3 separate regions of the Homo sapiens genome follow, and regions 2 and 3 are each linked to region 1. The links are contacts of gene promoters, found by promoter capture Hi-C in blood cells and fetal thymus (Javierre and others, 2016). All regions are on one chromosome and are shown on one strand. Each heading gives the region's core, a stretch centred on a gene start or on the middle of the fragment in contact. The rest is flanking DNA. Distances are from core to core; before and after follow the strand shown. Region 1 holds the start of ZNF207 (zinc finger protein 207). Region 2 overlaps SUPT6H (SPT6 homolog, histone chaperone and transcription elongation factor). Region 3 overlaps SDF2 (stromal cell derived factor 2).

Region 1 (4,110 bases), core at 562-3,061:
ATTTAATTCAGCTCCACACATACTTTGTGTTTTGGGGCAAATTATTCCAGCTCTCTTAAGTCTCTTTTATCTCATCTCTATTAACAAGTTGACAATAATGGCTCCTACCCCAGAGGCTGAGACAAATAATGTTAAAACTCACTACAATGCTTGGCACACGGTAGGTGCTCCATGGATGTCTGCTATTATTTTTTGCTTTTAATAGTAACATAATTTACATTACTAGTTATTATTATATGCTAAGCTCTGTTTTAAGTGCAGCCAAGATGAAGTTTAACTGCCTTGCCCAAAGTCAGGCAGCTAAGCAGTGGCACTGGTGGACTATGAACCCAAGCACTGGACTTTTAACCACCTCTCACTTGCATGATCCTCCAGTTGCCCTCTTAGAACCACTGTGCCTTCTCAGAGACTTCAGCTGAAATCCAACTTCTGAGAATGCTTCTAGGGTTCGCCAGAACCCGCCTTTGCTAGCCTCCCTAGGATTATCTCTTGTGACCAGCACCTTCACTGACAGCTCCAGTCTTTTTTTTTTTTTTTTGAGACGGAGTCTCACTCTGTCACCCAGGCTGGAATGCAATGGCGAGATCTCGGCTCACTGCAACCTTCACCTCCCAGGTCCAAGTGATTCTCCTGCCTCATTCTCCCGAGTAGCTGAGGTTACAGGCGCCTGCCACTACGCCTGGCTAATTTTTGTATTTTTAGTAGAGACAGGGTTTCACCATGTCGGCCAGGCTGGTCTCGAACTCCTGACCTCAAGTGATCCGCCTGCCTCGGCCTTGGCCCATAGTGTTGGGATTACTGGCGTGAGCAACCGCGCCCGGCTATCAGCTCCAGTCTTACCACGATTAGTTTTTCACGTGCCCAGCCTCAAAGACTTAAACTCTTTGCTCCCTTACGGAGATACCCTTTCCTTCACCTTGCTTGCTCCCGTTGACTCCTCAAGAAACCTTTCTTATGTCGGGCGCAGCGGCTCAAGCCTGCAATCCAGCACTTTGGGAGGCCGAGGCGGGCGGATCACTTGAGCCCAGGAGTTCGAGACCAGCCTCGCTAACATGGTGAAACCCCATTCTACTAAAAATACAAAAATTAGCCGGGCTTGGTGGCGCGGGCCTGCAGTCCCAGCTACTCGGGAGGCTGAGGTAGGAGAATCGCTTGAACCCGGGAGACGGAGGTTGCAGTGAGCAGAGATCGCGCCGCTGCACTCCAGCCTGGGAGACAGAGCGAGACTTGGTCTCAGAAAAATAAAACAAAACAAAGAAAAACAAAACTTTACTTGACAACCCAACGACCACTACCACTACAGCCGCCCTAGGACTCCCGCTCTCTGAGGTCCTACAGCACTTCGCATTTCCCTCAACGCCGCACTGAGAACTCTGCATTGTGTACTCGTCTGTCACCAATCTGCGAGTTACAAAGCAGAGACTAACTTATTTGGTTTAGCATTTAATAGGCACATAATCAACATTTACTGTTCAATTGAAACAAAATTAAAATTGGGCGCTGTCTCTATCTTTATTTGTGATCGGCCCTAACTGCACTGGCAATCTTTTCCGTTTTTTTGTTTTCTGTTTTCCATTCGCATGCCCCTTAGCGTACCTGGGGCTCCGGCTCCTTTACAAATGAAACCCAAAGTGCTCCGCAAGCACAGCCAGCGAAAGCGAAAAACTCTGAAACGGACAAGATGGCTGCCACCTCTTCGCGCCTCTTAGTCCCACCCACTCAGGGCGGAGGTCTGCGTCATGTGACCCTCCCCTTCTTGGCTCCGCCTCCTACCGCAGTGCTTGACGGGAGGCGGAGCGGGGAACGAGGCCGTCGGCCATTTTGTGTCTGCTTCCTGTGGGACGTGGTGGTAGCCGTTGGGTTGGGAAAGTGAGGGATTTTTGGCCTCGTTTCTCCTGCTTCTTTTCTCCTCCCTTTTACTTTGCCGGTAGAACACAGTTATGGGTCGCAAGAAGAAGAAGCAGCTGAAGCCGTGGTGCTGGTATCCTTTGTCGGTTTGAAGTCGAGGTCGCGTTGGGGTGCCGGTTGTTGGGGCCTGGGACTAGGAGGCCTGGATTTGGCTTACGGCGTGGAGCGTTTGTATTTAGGCGTCTGCGTGGGTGGCCTGGTGGCTGGGATTGGACTTGGGAAGGCTTCTAGGAAAATGGGGTTCCGAGGTCGACAGGCTTTTGCAGTTGTGGGTCGTGTGACTCTGTGACTCAGGAGGATCTTGTTCGGTGCGAATTTTGGACTCCGGGAGGCGGCCTGGACCCCTCCGCCAGGGACAGTGTCCCCTAGGGACTATTCAGCCACCTTCCGTTGTTTTGGTGACGATTCAACAAGGGACTTTTCTTCGAGTGCGATAGGCTTATTACTTTCATGGAGGGTTGGGGACAGCTTCACAGTCTGTCACCCACTTTTTCTGTTTTTATTTACTTTATGTGTGTTTTGTGTTTATTTTTTCGAATTGGCGGTTTAGTAAAGAACCAAGTTAGTCAACCCTGGTTTCGAACCTTTTTTTTTTTTTTTTTCTTTTCGGGGCGGGAGGAGAACTAGCTTCCGTGTCTCACCCAGAGGCGCCTTAATCTTCAGGAAGCGTTCTCACAGGGCGGAGTTTCTGTTACCCAACTTTGTAGGACTAAAAAGTGCCTATCTTATTAGGAAAACTCTTACTACAGTGTGGTATTAATGCTTTTTCTGGAAGCGTTAATATTCTTTACATTAAAATTGATTTTATTTACTGTTTTGTACGTAAAGGCGGCTTGTTACAGTACTGCGTTTATGTAACAGTTTTAAAAATAGCTTAAATACGGTTACGAATTTTGTAATGTGATTTTAGGAAAATCTGAGTAGTGAGGTAAGAATTCTGTTTTATTGATGTAAGAATTCTGCTTTATTGATTTTATTGATCTGTGAATTTAAATACATTGCTTGGCAACATAAATTCATACGGAATTGGAAACAACTTTATGGATTGTTCATTCGAAATTATGTGATTATTGTTCACCATATAGTTACTCTTAGATTCTAAATATTGCTAAATTCCTAATCCAGTTATTGCTATCGTCTTCATATCTAGTGAAGTAATTGTCTTGACAGAACCTTAGGGATTTCTTAACTGAACTCTTTCCTGTCCTCAGTGTGCATTTGTAAATGTTGAAATATTTATAACAAAAGTTTCACCGACATCTCTGTTAAACACAGGAATTTGACAAAGTATATTGCTGATTATTGAGATGTGTTTTTTGGGGTGGTGAAGAGAGCTGGCCTTCTAGGAAATTGAAAATACTGAAATAACATGGCAAGTGTAGTCCCTAATTGTGTAATAAATATAAAAAGCAGAGTTTCTATACAGTACCATTTTGGTTTTAGCTGTTCCCATATTGTAATGTTATCCATATGTTTTTATTATAGGCAGTGTCATCATTAGGCTGTCTTTGTGCCTTAACAGTATTGATCAGGTATTGTAATAGAGATTTTGATGATGAGAAGATCCTTATTCAGCACCAAAAAGCAAAGCATTTTAAATGCCATATATGTCACAAGAAATTGTATACAGGACCTGGCTTAGCTATTCATTGCATGCAGGTAAGGATTTTTCTTCTGTATTTATTGTCCGCTTGTGATTTGGAAACAACTTGAAAGAATAATCTTTTTTATTTTTTTGAGTTTCGGTCTTGTCGCCCAAGCTGGAGTGCAGTGGTGCAATCTCGGCCCACTGCAACCTCTGCCTCTCGGGTTCAAGCTATTCTTCTGCCTCAGCCTCCGGAGTAGTTGGGACTACAGGCAGCCGCCACCATGCCCGGCTAATTTTTTGTATTTTTAGTAGAGACTGGGGTTTCACCATGTTGGCCAGGCTGGTCTCGAACTCCTGACCTCAGGTGATCCACCCACCTGGGCCTCCCAGAGTGCTGGGATTACAGGCGTGAGCCACCGCGCCTGGCCGAAAGAATAATCATTTATTTCTCTGACAACTGTAGTTTTGTTTTTTTTTTGTTCACTTACTTACTGCAAAAGATAAGATAGCCAATCAGCATTAAAAAAAACAAAAAATTTGTTCGATAGCCATCAAGACAATAAACAAAACTGGCTTTTTATGTTTAAAGAGGGTTTGTATTTGTATTTAGTTTG
Region 2 (4,027 bases), core at 1-2,500, 3.7 Mb before region 1:
TTGAGTGGGCAGAGCAGTGGCAGGTTGCTAAAAGGCTGTTTGTGGGAAGGTTTAAGAGCCCTCTGTACAATCATGTGTCCGTTTTTTTATCCTTCACTCTTTTCTTTCCCTAGTTATCTTCAGGCAGAGTGAGAAGCTGCAGCAATGTCTGATTTTGTGGAAAGCGAGGCTGAGGAGTCAGAGGAAGAATACAATGATGAAGGCGAGGTGGTACCCCGAGTCACCAAGAAATTTGTGGAAGAGGAGGATGATGGTGAGGAGGCCCCAGCCTCAAGCTTCTCCCCACTATTGCTAAGCTTTGGATAGTTGGATTCTTGCTGATGAAAAGCTCAGGCTCAGCACAGAAGTTATCACACATGAGGTACCAGCTTGAGAACTTTCAGTCATTCTTAGCAGATACTAACTGAGCATCTGTCTGTATGCCAGGCACTAGGCCTGGAACTAGAAATATAAAACAATAAATATCCAGCTATTGTGGAGTTTACTTTAGTTGGGGGGTGGTTGATAATAAATCAGTAGATAAGTCTGTATATAATACTTTCTGCTTTTAGACCTAGCATTGTTGATATTTATTCACCTCGTTTCCTATTTCTCTGGCCAAGCCCAATCTTTAGAATTGTCAACAGAGTAGAACCACGAAATGACTTCAAAGGGGTAAAGGGACGTACAAGTTTTATCAAAGGAATTATGGCAAAAAAAAGGAATATAGCTGCTGAGTTTACAAACTGAGTAAAACAAAGTTATTGGTGGCTATAATAATCTAGTAATGATTTTGAGAAGCCAAAGTGACGGGGAAGATCATCCTGCCCAAAGACAGATGGTGAATGTAGGGGAAGAAAACATTCTTTCCAGATGCTGCTACTCTAAGTCAATGGCTATGTTTTGCATCTTTACATGAGGCAGAAGAGTTAACATGGCACCCAGGTCATTAGGTGCAGAGCAAATGGATAATCACATTAATCAAGTGACCCTGAACCTCTAGCCTGTTTTTCAGTCTCCATGCCTCAAACATGCATGTCTTCCAGATGAGGAGGAGGAGGAGGAGAACCTAGATGATCAGGATGAGCAAGGCAACTTGAAAGGCTTTATCAATGACGATGATGATGAAGATGAAGGGGAGGAGGATGAGGGCAGTGACTCTGGTGATTCAGAAGATGATGTTGGCCACAAGAAGAGAAAACGCAGTGAGTAGTCTGTCGTTGGCTCAAGTGAGGCTTGGGTGGAGGTTGCAGTGGAAAAGGGCAACCCCATCACCATGGGCAACACTTTGTTTCTTCAGCCTCTTTTGATGACCGCCTGGAGGATGATGATTTTGACCTCATTGAGGAGAATTTGGGTGTCAAAGTCAAAAGAGGAGTAAGTGTCATTCTTTGTCTTTTGTCCCTGGGGGTAAAGGAAAAAGCCCTGGAAATTTCAATGTCTGTGGGTGAGGAGGCACACGCAGGACAGTTTGGAGAACATTAGAGCACGGTGTTCGGTATCATTGTACTACGGAGCCTAGATTTGCATCCCAGATCTGGGTGCCTGTTAGAGAAAGTCTTGTCCAAGTTTCAAGGATGGGCTTTGAGGCTACAAGAGCATCACTCGGCATGTTCTTTCCCATCTCTCTTGGTCAGAGTAATTGTGGTGGGAAGAAGGGAGTGAGACTGGAGATTTGGTATCCGTATGCCAGACTCCTCAGATCCTGATAAGGCAGGTTTTCCCACCCCTAGCAAAAGTACCGGCGTGTCAAAAAAATGTCAGATGACGAGGACGATGACGAGGAGGAATATGGCAAGGAGGAACATGAAAAAGAAGCTATTGCGGAAGAAATCTTCCAGGATGGGGAAGGGGAAGAAGGGCAGGAGGCCATGGAGGCCCCCATGGCTCCTCCAGAGGAGGAGGAAGAAGATGATGAGGAGTCAGGTATGTTATATTGGGCAGGGAAGCCAGTGTTTGGATGGGTATTGGGATTTCCTGGCCCATGGGAACAGGATGGAAACCATTCTTTAGCTACATCCCCCAGCATTTGACACAAAGAAGTTCCTTTTCAGGAGCTTCCCTTCTCTGTTGCTCACTGGCCACTCACATAGTAGGAACCAAAGCAATTTAGTCCTGGCTCAGCCCCTGACTCTGAGCCCCAACCCATCCTTTTCCTACCCAGATATTGACGACTTCATTGTGGATGATGATGGACAGCCTCTGAAAAAACCTAAGTGGCGGAAAAAGCTTCCTGGATACACAGACGCGTGAGTGGGGTCTGGTACAAGGTGGGGATAAAGTGATTGAGTGGGCCCAGTCAGGAAGGAGGAGATCAGAGGCCTTTGCCAAAAATGGGGCATTCCCAGCTTGCAGCCATTTTGCTTCCCTGCCTCAAATAACCTCTACCAGGCAGTGATTTCAGACTGCTCCCGGAAGCCCTGGGAGCTGTCTCTGCACTCTAGGACTACTGTGGGATTGGAGTAGAGTCCCACATGGGCAAGGCTCCAGCATTCCTCTTCCGCCTACAGCTCCATGTTTATTCAATTATATATATATTGACATTCTTAATATATTTTTGTTGGAAGACAAATGCCCGCATCACAATTTACAAATTTGAAAGCTTTTGCCCTGAGGGAATACTGTAATGCCTTAGCAGAAGATGGGTCCACTGAGCAAGACATAGACCCGTCTGCTCTGTTGCTATTTGATTACTGTCACTCGAAGGTGCCAAAGATGAGCTTTTTAATCTTCCATATACAATAGTTTGCCCAGAAATATCCGCCAATGAAGCCTTTCGTCCACAGTGAATATGGTTATTTTGTTTACCTTCCTCCTAACCCTCTCAGTTCCCTTGGGACAAGTAAAGGATCTATGCAAGGGCTGCATTTCTCTCCTCTCACCTGAACCTGAGCCACCTGCCTCTTGCTGCCACCTACAGGGCCCTGCAAGAAGCCCAGGAAATCTTCGGTGTGGACTTTGACTATGATGAATTTGAGAAATACAATGAGTATGATGAAGAACTGGAGGAAGAGTATGAGTATGAGGATGATGAGGCTGAGGGTGAAATCCGAGTGCGCCCCAAGAAGACCACCAAGAAGCGTGTGAGCCGTAGGAGCATCTTTGAAATGTATGAGCCCAGTGAGCTAGAAAGCAGCCACCTCACAGATCAGGACAATGAAATCCGAGCCACTGACCTGCCTGAGAGGTTCCAGGTAAAAAACCACCAGCCTCTGCTCTTCTACCAATCCATAATTACCTTGTAGCCAAGAAATATTCTAGCAAAAGTCTGGCATTGAGTATCCAGCACAGGTTTGAACCTCATCTCACCTGGGGCCTGGGAAATCCAGCTCTTAGAGAAGGGAAGATAGACTCTACCTTGCTTACGGTTCTAGAAATACTGTTTTCTTTAGAAATCTGTGAAATGCAGTCTGGGTGCTGTGGCTCACACCTATAATCCCAGCACTTTAGGAGGCCAGGGTGGCAGATTGCTTGAGTCCAGGAACTCAAGACCAGCCTGGGCAACATAGGGAGATCTTGTCTCTACAAAAAATACAAAAAACTAGCTGGTTGTGATGGTGCACACCTGTAGTTTCAGCCACTCAGGAGGCTGAGGTGGGAAGATTGCTTGAACTTGGGAGGTCACGGCTGCAGTGAGCCATCATTGCACCACTGCACTGCAGCCTAGAAGCAGACCCTGTCTCAAAAAAAAAAAACCATGAAATGCTTATGGCCAGGCACGGTGGTTCACACCTGTAATCCCAGCACTTTGGAAGGCCAAGGTGGGTGGATCACCTGAGGTCAGGAGTTCGAGACCAGCCTGGCCAACATTGTGAAACCCCGTCTTTACTAAAAATGTAAAAAATTAGCTGGGCGGCCAGGCACGGTGACTCACGCCTGTAATCCTAGCACTTTGGGAGGCCAAGGTGGGTGGATTGCCTGAGCTCAGGAGTTAGAGGCCAGCCTGGGCAACATGGTAAAACCCTGTCTCTACTAAAATACAAAAAAAAAAAAAAATTAGCTGGGCGTTGACAGCATGCATCTGTAATCCCAGTTACTTGGGAGGTTG
Region 3 (3,567 bases), core at 1,053-3,552, 3.7 Mb before region 1:
ACTCTACTTGATAAAATTGTTCCCAGGAGGGTACCAGTATGTAATTCTGATACTGCTATATTTGTATACTGGAACTGAACTGAAGTTCAATACATGGATGGCAGATGGTAGGAACAAGGTATCTTACTGTTGGAGTGGGAATTTACAAATTAGCACAGGGAGGAGGCTAGGACGATCTATGTGGTAATGGATTACAGCTAAAGACATCAATAAGAACACTAGCCAGGCACAGTGGGGCATGCCTGTATCCCCAGCTACTTGGAAGGCTGACGCAAGAGGACTGCTTGAGCCAAGGAGTTCGAGGCTCTAGTGCACTATCATCACACCTGTGAGTAGCCACTGCACTCCAGCCTGAATAACACAGCAAGAACCCATCTTAAAAAAAAAAGAAAAAGAAAAAGAAAGCTCATTTAACTTAATATATGTAGATACAGATGGCTATGCAAATAAAAATTTATAGATATGTAATATATACACGAGTAAGCACACACAGGTAACAATTCTTTATTTTTTTAATTTTTTTTTGAGACAGAGTCTCGCCCTGTCACCCAGGCTGGAATGCAATGGTGCAATCTCGGCTCACTGCAACCTCCGCCTCCCAGGTTCAAACGATTCTCCTACCTCGGCCTCCCAAGTAGCTGGGATCACAGGCTCCCGCCACCATGCCCAGCTAATTTTTGTACTTTAGTAGATACGGGGTTTCACCATGTTAGCCAGGCTGGTCTCGAACTCCTGACCTTGTGATCCACCCACCTCTGCCTCACAAAGTGCCGGGATTATAGGTGTGAGCCACTGCGCCTGGCTTACAGTTATTTATTCTGTCAAGTGAGAGGGCCTAAAAGAAACACTCCAGTAGCAACAAGCTTACATAAGGCCTAGAACTTGGTTTTAATATCATTCTCCAATAAAAGGAAGCAGAGCTCCTTGGAGAAACAGCTGATTCTAGTACTGGAGCAAGAAATAAACAAGATGAGCCTGGAGCATCTTTTGGTGCCAGAAAGGAAAGAAGTGCTTTAAAGTGCAGGCACATATACACAAAAACACAATGGGATACTGCCAATGGACACAAAGCCAGCTGAAAGAATTCCCAATGGCCAAAGTTGGAACAATTTGAGCAACAAAATATAGTAGCATTAGATTATAACGAAGTATAAACTATCCATAAGTTTATACTAATGTAAATAACTGAATAAATAAATAAATTGGGGAAAAGAGACAAATCCCCAATATGGAAAAATCCCAAATAAAATATGTAGATATTCCACCCTAATGTAGACAGAGTATAACTCTCCAGTCTGTAAGAGTGAAATGCACATAGTGACTTTCTTCCAAAAAGTGCATGGAAAGGGGGAAAATGAAAAGAATAACTTTACAGGAGAAACCTAACGAACAAACACTACTTCAGCCAGGTAATCAAGGTCCACATCAACAGTCATAAATCATAAAGATAGTATGTACCCCTGATATGATGGGATACAAATGGCACTTTACCTCTGTGATCTTCCTCCCAAACCCTTTATAAGTCCGGTCTAATCACAAGAAAAACAAATTCCAACAGAGGGGCAATCTACAATACACCTGACCAGCACTCCTCAAAGCTGTCAAGGTCATCAAAAACTAGGGAAGCCTGAAAAACTGTCACAGCCAAGAACAGCCTAATGAGACATGGCAAGTATATGTAATGTGGTATTTTGGAATGGAAAAAGAACATTAGGTAAAAACTAAGGGACCGGGCACGGAGGCCTCACGCCTGTAATCCCAGCAGTTTGGGAGGCCAAGGTGGGTGGATCACAAGGTCAGGAGCTCGAGACCAACCTGGACAACATGGTGAAACCCCGTCTCTACTGAAAATACAAAAATCAGCCGGGCGTGGTGGCAGGCACCTGTAATCCCAGCTACTCAGGAGGCTGTGGCAAGAGAATAGCTTGAACCTGGGAGGCGGAGGTTGCAGTGAGCTGAGATCGCGCCATAGCACTCCAGCCTGGGACAGAGCGAGACTCTGTCTCAAAAAACAAAACAAAACAAAACAAAACAAGGGAATCAGAAAAAAACTATGGTCTTTAGTTAATAAAACTGTATCAATATTGCTTCATTAAATATAGCAAATTTACCCTTCGAAGGTAAGATATTAATAGGGAAAACTGCATACAGGGGCTGGGGACAGGGAAGGAGTCATTAAGGTGTCCACATCCCCTGACAACTCAAGGCTTAAAACAGTGGCACAAGGCTGGGTGTACTGGCTTATGCTTGTAATCCCAGCACTTTGGGAGGCTGAGGCAGGCAGATAGCTTGAGCTCAGGAGTTTGAGACCAGCCTAGGCAACATGGCAAAACCCCGTATCTACCAAAAAAAATACAAAAATTAGCCAGGCATGGTGGCGTGAGCCTGTAGTGAGGGCTGAGGTGGGAGAATTGCTTGAGCCCAGGAGGCTGAGGCTGCAGTGAGCAAGATCACACTACAACCTGGGTGACAGAGCAAGACCCTGTTTAAAAACAAAAAACAGTGACACAAAAGCAAATCTATTTTCCTAATGTAACTAGTTAGCATCATTAAAAAAAAAAAAAACACTGCAAGTTGGAAAACATTGGGTTTCTTTATTGCAGAATATCAGAACTTATGATATGCTGATGTATACCCAGTCTGTCTGTCCTTCCCATTTCTTGATTTGGTTTAGTTGTTGTCTCCACTTTGACCAGAAACAATTTTCTTCACACTTATAAAACAAAGCCGGCTGGGTGCAGTGGCTCATGCCTATAATCCCAACACTTCCAGGAGGCAGAGGCGGGTGGATCACCTGAGGTCAGGAGTTCGAGACCAGCCTGACCAATATGGTGAAAACCCATCTCTACTAAAAATACAAAAATCAGGCCAGGCGCGGTGACTTGCACTTGTAATCCCAGCACTTTGGGAGGCCGAAGTGGGCAGATCACAAGGTCAGGAGTTCGAGACCAGCCTGGCCAACACAGTGAAACCCCATCTCTACTAAAAATACAAAAAAAAAAATTAGCCAGGTGTGGTGGCACACGCCTGTAGTCCCAGCCACTCGGGCAGCTGAGGTGGGAGAACCGCTTGAACGCAGGAGGCAGAGGTTGCAATGAGCTGAGACCATGCCATTGCACTCCAGCCTGGGTGACAGAGTGAGACTCCATCTCAAAAAAATAAAAATAAAAACAAAAATTAGCCAGGCATGGTGGCATGCGCCTGTAATCCCAGCTACTTGGGAGACTGAGGCAGGAGACTTGCTTGAACCCAGAGGCGGAGGTTGCAGTGAGCCAAGATCATGCCACTGCACTGCAGCCTGGGTGACAGAGTGAGACTGCGTCTCAAAAACAACAAAAACCCACACAAAAATAGAGCCATTTCCCCAGGTCTGCACAAAAGAGAACATCTACACCTAGAAAAGAAACATTTAAGAACCAAGAGATCAAACAAGCACCCACTGAGTAATGCAGAGCAGCAACAATCCATCGAAAGCCACCTCACCTGGTTTCCAGAAAGAGGTGAAGTGAAGTGGTGACTATGGAGGTTTCGGCCAGTGTTGACATGTGTCAGCCGGATGGGCTGGCC

Evidence for each region. The method cuts DNA at HindIII sites, captures the fragments that hold promoters and counts their contacts. A CHiCAGO score of 5 or more calls a contact.
Region 2: a fragment that was not itself captured here is called in contact with the fragment with the promoter of ZNF207 in region 1 in 1 of 17 cell types (neutrophils); the score reaches 6.8 in neutrophils.
Region 3: a contact is called between a fragment that was not itself captured here and the fragment with the promoter of ZNF207 in region 1, in 1 of 17 cell types (neutrophils). The highest score is 6.2, in neutrophils.

What each region holds. Positions count from the first base shown.
Region 1 is chr17:32,348,346-32,352,455 of GRCh38, forward strand. ZNF207 (zinc finger protein 207) reads left to right here and starts at 1,812. Exons shown (of 12, transcript NM_001098507.2): 1 at 1,812-1,981; 2 at 3,441-3,567. The coding sequence starts at 1,941. It overlaps MIR632 (microRNA 632), which reads left to right and starts at 1,764; the gene lies at 1,764-1,857. It also overlaps a transcript of C17orf75 not described here. RefSeq lists enhancers at 1,262-1,381, 1,552-1,901, 4,069-4,110. The HindIII fragment of the contact is 13,651 bases long and covers 1-4,110 here.
Region 2 is chr17:28,673,258-28,677,284 of GRCh38, forward strand. SUPT6H (SPT6 homolog, histone chaperone and transcription elongation factor) reads left to right here. Exons shown (of 37, transcript NM_003170.5): 2 at 114-253; 3 at 1,026-1,184; 4 at 1,280-1,356; 5 at 1,713-1,905; 6 at 2,144-2,228; 7 at 2,900-3,173. The coding sequence starts at 145. Among named protein-coding and RNA genes, the nearest start is that of SUPT6H, 13 kb to the left of the region's middle. The HindIII fragment of the contact is 1,912 bases long and covers 295-2,206 here.
Region 3 is chr17:28,651,804-28,655,370 of GRCh38, forward strand. SDF2 (stromal cell derived factor 2) reads right to left here. Exons shown (of 3, transcript NM_006923.4): 2 at 3,484-3,567. Among named protein-coding and RNA genes, the nearest start is that of SDF2, 8.3 kb to the right of the region's middle. The HindIII fragment of the contact is 2,882 bases long and covers 862-3,567 here.